Regions from separate parts of the Homo sapiens genome. Here region 2 is linked to region 1. Evidence: promoter capture Hi-C in human tissues and cell types (Jung and others, 2019). All regions are on one chromosome and are shown on one strand. The core of a region is centred on a gene start or on the middle of the fragment in contact, and the rest is flanking DNA. Distances in the headings are between cores, read along the strand shown. Region 1 holds the start of PTX3 (pentraxin 3). Region 2 overlaps MLF1 (myeloid leukemia factor 1).

What was found. Contacts are between HindIII fragments. The study calls those that stand out against the background at their distance.
Region 2: a contact is called between a fragment that was not itself captured here and the fragment with the promoter of PTX3 in region 1, in 1 of the 25 tissues and cell types used here (dorsolateral prefrontal cortex).

What each region holds. Positions count from the first base shown.
Region 1 is chr3:157,434,569-157,438,165 of GRCh38, reverse strand. PTX3 (pentraxin 3) reads right to left here and starts at 1,316. Exons shown (of 3, transcript NM_002852.4): 1 at 1,103-1,316; 2 at 252-653. The coding sequence starts at 1,232. All of the region lies in intron 4 of VEPH1 (ventricular zone expressed PH domain containing 1), which reads left to right. The HindIII fragment of the contact is 4,814 bases long and covers 1-3,266 here.
Region 2 is chr3:158,576,502-158,580,127 of GRCh38, reverse strand. The region is part of intron 1 of MLF1 (myeloid leukemia factor 1); the gene reads right to left. Among named protein-coding and RNA genes, the nearest start is that of MLF1, 7.1 kb to the right of the region's middle. The HindIII fragment of the contact is 3,302 bases long and covers 535-3,626 here.

The sequences.
Region 1 (3,597 bases), core at 67-2,566:
GGCTCCTTAGGACTGAGGAATACTTTTTTAAAGCCAATTTTCCCGCCTTGTATGGTGTGCCTGAGCTCTGTGACCGCGCATGCAGAAATAGGGGTGTGTGTGTGTGTGTGTGTGTGTGTGTGTGTGTGCGCGCGCGCGCGCGCGCTTCCCATGAAAGCTTCCCCTAGAAGGTTGCCTGGCTTGGCTTGCCGTTACGCGCGCTCCCGGAACAAAGCCGCAGTGGGAGGTCCCGGCCCCGCTTGCCTCCTTACCTGCCGGCAGCCAGCTCCGGGCAGCCCAGCCCTGCACCGCGTGCAGGTCGGCTCGCGTCTGCCGCAGCTCCTCTAGCACCGCGGCCAGGGCGCGCCCCGCCTCCTCTGGGCGCTGCGCCTCCGCGCCCTCCATACGCGCCAGCCTGCGGCCCGCGTCGCGGGTCGCCTGCAGCAGCTCGTCCAGAGCACTGGTCAGCCTGGCCTCTGCGGGAGCCCCCGGCGCGCACGGCCTCGCCAGGCTTTCCGCGAGCCGGCCCAGCTCCTCCCGCAGCCTCTGCAGCTCGCCCCGCAGGACGTCGTCCGTGGCTTGCAGCAGCATGCGCTCTCTCATCTGCGAGTTCTCCAGCATGATGAAGAGCTTGTCCCATTCCGAGTGCTCCTGACCGCAGGCGCACGGCGTGGCTAGAGTACGGGATACACACACGTTAGCAGCCCGCCCAGGCCTGCCTTGGATGTGCTTTGTAAAAGCTGACCTCCCTCGGTGGTGCCAAGTTGCAGCCCGTTCCTGGCATTCCCCTTCCCTTTAAGGACACCTCCGAAAAACAGCATGTAAATGTCTCAGAAACGACAGAAATCATTCATTCAGGTATAGATTAAGTTGTACCCTATGAAATCGCCGGTTATGTAGCTCAAAACAGTCAAATATTGACGATTTGATATGATTCAACCCATTATGTACGTTACAGAAATAACTTTGAAACCTCCATCTTTCTTCAAGTGCTTCTCACTTTTGCATAACAAGCTATAAATTTTTAACTTGTCTCACTGGCCACAAAGTATATGTGTGTTATTTAGACCAAGAGGTGGATATGTAGTCAGGGTTAGCAGAGAAACAGTTAAAGTGAACTTACGGTCCTCAGTGGGATGGAGTCCATTGTCTATTTCGTTGTCCAAATTCACATACATGAGATCATAATCATCCGAGTTCTCGGCCAACACTGCAGACCAGAGAGCACAAAACAGAATCGCAAGGAGATGCATTGCTGGAGAGACGCAAAGTTCTTTCCACAGCTGGCGGGAGGAGACTCTCAAGTGAGCTGAGTTTGAGCGGAGGAGAGTGAGAGTGAGAGGCTGGAGCAGAGAGTCCTTAATAAATGCTGAGGAAAGCCTGAATGGGGATGAATGAGTAATGCTGGTGGCACTGCGGTAACGGGAGTTCCCCTGAATTTGGTGGGGGAGGGGGCTGGGTGGGAGAGCGAGGGAAATGTGGAAGTTGCACAATATTAAACCGCAAAGGTTTACGCTGCAGTCAGATTAATTGGAGGAGGGTCAGAGGGGAAAGAGGAGAGAAACTGGGCTTCTACTGTTCTCCTGAGAATTAGCTGTTGTAATTTGAATTGATAGCAATGGGGATGAAGGAGGGGTGGTAGGGGAGAAATTTCAGAGGGTACTGAAGCAAATCATCATTTCAGCATTTTCTGTGAGCTGTTATTATTTCACAACCCTTTATATATAGAAAACTTTCCATGTTTCCTTTGTACACTGTTTTACAGGTTGAAACTGAAAATGGTCTGATTCCAAGATAAACCAACATATTAAGAATAGTTATGGCTCTGAAAGTCAAGTCCAATCCGAGCTATCTTGTCTTTAATACTTGAGGAGTTGCACCTATACTTTTATAGATAATTTTTTTTTTTGAGACTGAATTTCGCTCTTGTTGCCCAGGCTGGAGTGCAATGGTGTGATCTCGGCTCACTGCAACCTCCGCATCCTGGGTTCAAGCGATTCTCCTACCTCAGCTTCCCAAGTAGCTGGAATTACAGGCACCCGCCACCACACCCAGTTAATTTTTGTATTTTTAGTAGAGACAGGGTTTCACCATGTTAGCCAGGCTGGTCTCGAACTCCTGACCTCAGGCGATCCACCCGCCTTCGCCTCCCAAATTGCTAGGATTACAGACGTGAGCCACCTCACCCGGCCTATGACAAACAACACAGTACAACTGGGTAAACCTAGAATGGGGAAAAAAAGCTGGGGGAAAAAAGGAATATACTTATTTAGTTATTTAGGTATGTTTCTTTTCATAACTTGGTATTATGTGGACATTATATTATTCTACAAGGTTTCGAGGCAAGGATCATGTTTTAAAAGTAAACTTAGAGATTTCTGCTTCTAACAATATATACAGGTCTGTGTTCACATGATATTAATAAAAACTTAAAAGGTACAGATGAGCTCCCATTAAAGTAAGGGGAAAATCCCGGAGCCAAAGATAGAGAGGAAAGCAAAAACAACAATCCCATGAGCTGATGCTAGGGCCCCTCTGGCATAGGAGTGAAGTGAGATAGGGGTTATTAGTTCTATAACCACCAAATGTTGATGACCATGTGGAAGCAAAGCTTAGGCCAAAGGTGGAGAGTTAGAAGGGAGATCCTCATGAAAGCCAGGACCCTCACAGGGTTACCTACTGTATTTCAGTAGGTACAATCCCACTCTGCCCTAGCACAAAGAGGTAGGAAGCAATCATGTCTCTCTTTGAACTCTACAAGGTCCCTTTGAGTTTGTGAAATTGGGCCTGCCCTCAGATATGTTTAGAATTCAAATATATACTATCTGCCACTGTGAAAACAAAAAAGAATTCACAATGATATTTGAACATATGAGGAAGCAAACCACTATAAATGAGAATCAGCAGAAACCAAAAAGGATTAGACACCTCTCCCCAAGAACTGCATTTAGTTGAAATATCAGCCAAAAAACTAGAAAATAAATATGTTTAAAACTACTGAAGCTCTAAAAGAAGGAATTGGAAATATGAGAAAAGAATAAGACATTGTCAAAAAGAAAAAGGCTAGGTGATTTTTTTTAAAGAACCAAATAAAACTTCTAGAATTAAAAAAAAAAGTTAATTGAAAATTTTAAAAGCTCAAGGCATGGATTAAGTGGCAAATTAGGCAAAGCTGAAAAGAATATTAATGAACTGGAAGACAGATATAAGGAAATAATCTAAAATGTGCTGCTTTTATGTTCAGTAATAGGATTCTAAAATCATTTCATTGTTCAGGAGGACGAAAAAGAAATTAATTAATTTTGCTTTGCTCAAAAATATTTGTTATAAGTTTAAGGACAACTACCAAATGGACATAGGCATCCGAATAGAAGGTGCAGGGGGAATTTTTAAAGAAAGACTTGATCTATGAAAAAAAAATTAATGAAGGAGGAAAGAAAAGCACAGAGAAGGATAAGTTAAAAGTACAATATTATTTGCTAAAATTAAATCAAAATATACCAATAATTACCATAAATATTAATGAAACACATTTTCCAGTTAAGAGACAAATATTTCTATTTGTCATATAGAAATATTTTAGTCGGGGCTCACGTTCAGAATCCCAGTACTTTGGGA
Region 2 (3,626 bases), core at 936-3,435, 1.1 Mb before region 1:
TTTGAAGGTACAGAGTTTCAAGTAGTTCTAAAATGCACAAATGAGTTACCCATGGAACATTTTCTAACTCCTACCTCAAAAACCAGATTATTCCAAAGTATTCGTTATACCTTTGCAGTATGTTTGAAATATTTCATAATAAATGTAACTGCATGAGGTTAAAGGATTTCATACCATTTGATGTTTTAAAACAGGCATTTCAAAAGGAGGTCCTTTTGCTTACAGCTCCAAACTCACTGGACATTTACAGCTTAGAGTATGGTTAAAGTATGGAGACTAAAATGCTTGTTCCTATTAATATATACTTACTTAGGAAAACCAGTCAACTTTTCCTTTAGATATGTAGATGTGATTTGACTACAATGAAGAAAAGTATTTCAAGAAATACTAAATTTGTTCTTTGAATAAGGGAGTGCTAAACAGCTATTACTTTTCTACAGAATCAAAATTTAGTAAAATTAATTTTTCTCATTGCATTATAATTGGGCTAAAAATTAATCAACAAAATATGGCTCATTTAAAATTTGCCTGGGTTTTTCTTTCTTTATATAGAAGTAGGGGAATATTTAAATGTTTATTTGAATATGTGTATGTTCAGCAAATGCTAAAAATTTTATCTTTCTGAGTGACATGAACAAATGACTGCCTGTTGGAAGATGCACTAAACAAAAGCGAGCCTATAGTCTGGTGTTTGCAACTGTCTGAACCATTCAGGAAGAAATCTGGCTGAAACTTCTAGTGAGTTTAATTCATGTCTACCCAGAAAGGCAGCTGCTTGGAGATAAGGCTTTAATGTTTCTCTTGTCCAAGTTTGAATTCACTTTTATCAAAACTAAAAAAATTCTATGGTAGCACACAGTTGTTTTAATATTTTTAAAATTAACCTAGGCTTTTTTTCTCAAATGAAAAATTTTAGCCCATTCATAATGTTCTCTTTTGAAAATAAAATTTCATTCTTCTAGGAAAACAAATTGGAAATAGGAGGTTTTAAAAAGGTCATGCTATACAAACTAGTCATTTCATGTACACAAAGAGTCTAAGGTAATAATTTGAAAATGTTGTTAAAGATTTATGTGAGAAATATGCTTTGTATGTTCATAGGGTGCAATATTTTGCAGACTCTAAAGTCATGCTTTAGTGAATATCTAAAGACCAGGAAAACGTTCATGGTATATGTTGCAGAAAAGCATTGAATAATTAACCATAAAGTGTGGTCCGAATTTTGGAAAATAAAAATCCACATGTGGACATCTGAAACAAAATACATCAAAATAATGGGTTGTATTATTTCTGCTACCAAACTTTCTATACTTTTCAGATTTTCCATGAGGATGTATTTTCATTTAGGTCAAGAAAAATGTACTTTTACTCACTGATGACTATATACCTCCTCTCTTAGAATTGCTCACACAAACCACAACCAAACTGAATAAACTTTGGTCTCAAACGTACTTTTTCTATTCTATATTATTTACCTTCAGCATATATCACAAGGCAGGAAAAATAAATTGTTGCCTACTTCCCCTTCAAAAGTGTTTATGTCTTAACTCTTAGATTGATTCCAGGTCACTTGGGAATGATTTCAACATAGTGTGTACGTGTGTGTGTGTGTGTGTGTGTGTTTGTATGTATGTATGTACATACGTACATACATGTGTTTAAGGGCTGGTAATGTCTCCCTTTAGAATAATTTATTGTTTTTAAAACTCTCTCAAATACATATGTACACACACACACACACACACACTTATTTTGCCTAAGTTACACTTCTTTTTCATCTATATAAGAATATAGATACTTGTGCTTCTAAGCAAAGAGCATTACCTATTACATAAGGTTCTCAGATAACTGACATGGCAGGCTCACTCATTAAGGGAAATTCCTCCCTTCCATTATACATGGTAGTGGCAAAAGCTTAGCCAGCAGATGGTTATGGTTCTCTTGATCATAAAGAAATGTTCCCTAGTTTCAATGAGGTAGACTGGTCTATAAGGAAAATAGACCAGAAGATCCATGTTTTGATACTAGAAATAATGCATGTAACATTCAAAGAAGGATCTTGAGGGCAGGAACCAAGACATCTAAAAATTTAAAAGAGAACCCACAGGGTTCGGCCTATAGTAGAAACTGAAGAAATATTTAAAGAATGAATTACATTTTTATTAAGCAATTCTATTTTTCCATTGTCTTGAAGTACAAAGTGTTGGTGTGGCAAAAGCCTTTGATATCAAAAAAATTGTGGAAATGATTATGCTCCCCTGATATTCTATAAATAGTTCACTCCTTTTTCATGGATATTTACAATATTAATTGGCAGAAGTAGGAATTATCTTGTGGGTACATGCTACTGTATGGCATTTTTGACCCAGCAACCATGTCCTAGTCATGCTGTGTTCCTGGGCTCCTAATTCAGTGGTGTTTACCTCATGAACCAAAGAATGCCCCAAATGAATAGTATACCTTAGAAATCCTTTCAGCACAAGGCTTACAGTGTCTCATTCTTTCAAATATGATCTTATAATTTGCAAAGTTCATTTATAAGAAATTTATATATTAAAATATTCCTAAGAACAATTATACTAGGTAATTTCACAGTAGGTATTCAGGGTCTTAGAATAAAGTGGGACCTTGAAAATAAGTAACTTAAATTTTAGCTGAGTATTCTCAAGCTACTTTTATCAACTGTTTAGAATGAGAGGTATATGTGGCAGAATATTAACTAGAGCCAAGCTATGACAATTTGGCAGAGACTCTACCTCAGACTGTACGTCTAAACAAGTATTTAAGTAGTAACCTTGAATACTGTTTCCAAAAGCTTAACAAGGTGGTTTTATTTCCTTCAATGAGAATGTTTTCCATCAATAAAAAAGTTAACCCACATCTTGTACATAGAATACATTCACTTTGAACTCCATCAGTGGATAGGACAAAGCAATGTCCTTTAATAAATCCAACTACTTCCAAGTATAAAATAAATACAAATTTGTAAAAATTTTTAAAATAGAGATTATACATATAAGGAGATAGAAGAAGTAACATCCTGTGAATATATGCAGTACTTTAACCAAATACTGGTCATCAGATATATGATGCTCATATGGAGAGCTGAGAGGCTTAAAGAAGAGACAACAATAATTTATGATTAAAAATTAAGGTTGGCTGGGTGCGGTGGCTCATGCCTGTATCCCAGCACTTTAGGAGGCTGAGGCCAGCATATCACGAGATCAGGAGTTCGAGACCAGTTTGGCCAACATAGTGAAACCCGGTATCTACTAAAAATACAAAAAATCAGCCGGGTGTGGTGGTGTGCGCCTGTAATCCCAGCTACTCAGGAGGCTGAGGCAGGAGAATCACTTGAACCTGGGAGGCAGAGGTTGCAGTGAGGCGAGATCACACCACTGCACTCCAGCCTGGGCAACAGTGCCAGACTCCGTCTCAAAAAAAAAAAAAAAAAAATTAAGGTTGACAGGTTTGCCAGCCTGCTTCTGAGCTTTCTATCTCCAATAGCTGGTAAGTGGTAACATAGTTATTATTCTTTGTAGACTTGCTCGATCAGAATTACATTTTTGTAGCTCAGAAGATTCACAGTTCCTGTTTCGTATCAAATAGAAAATTCTGGGTCGTAC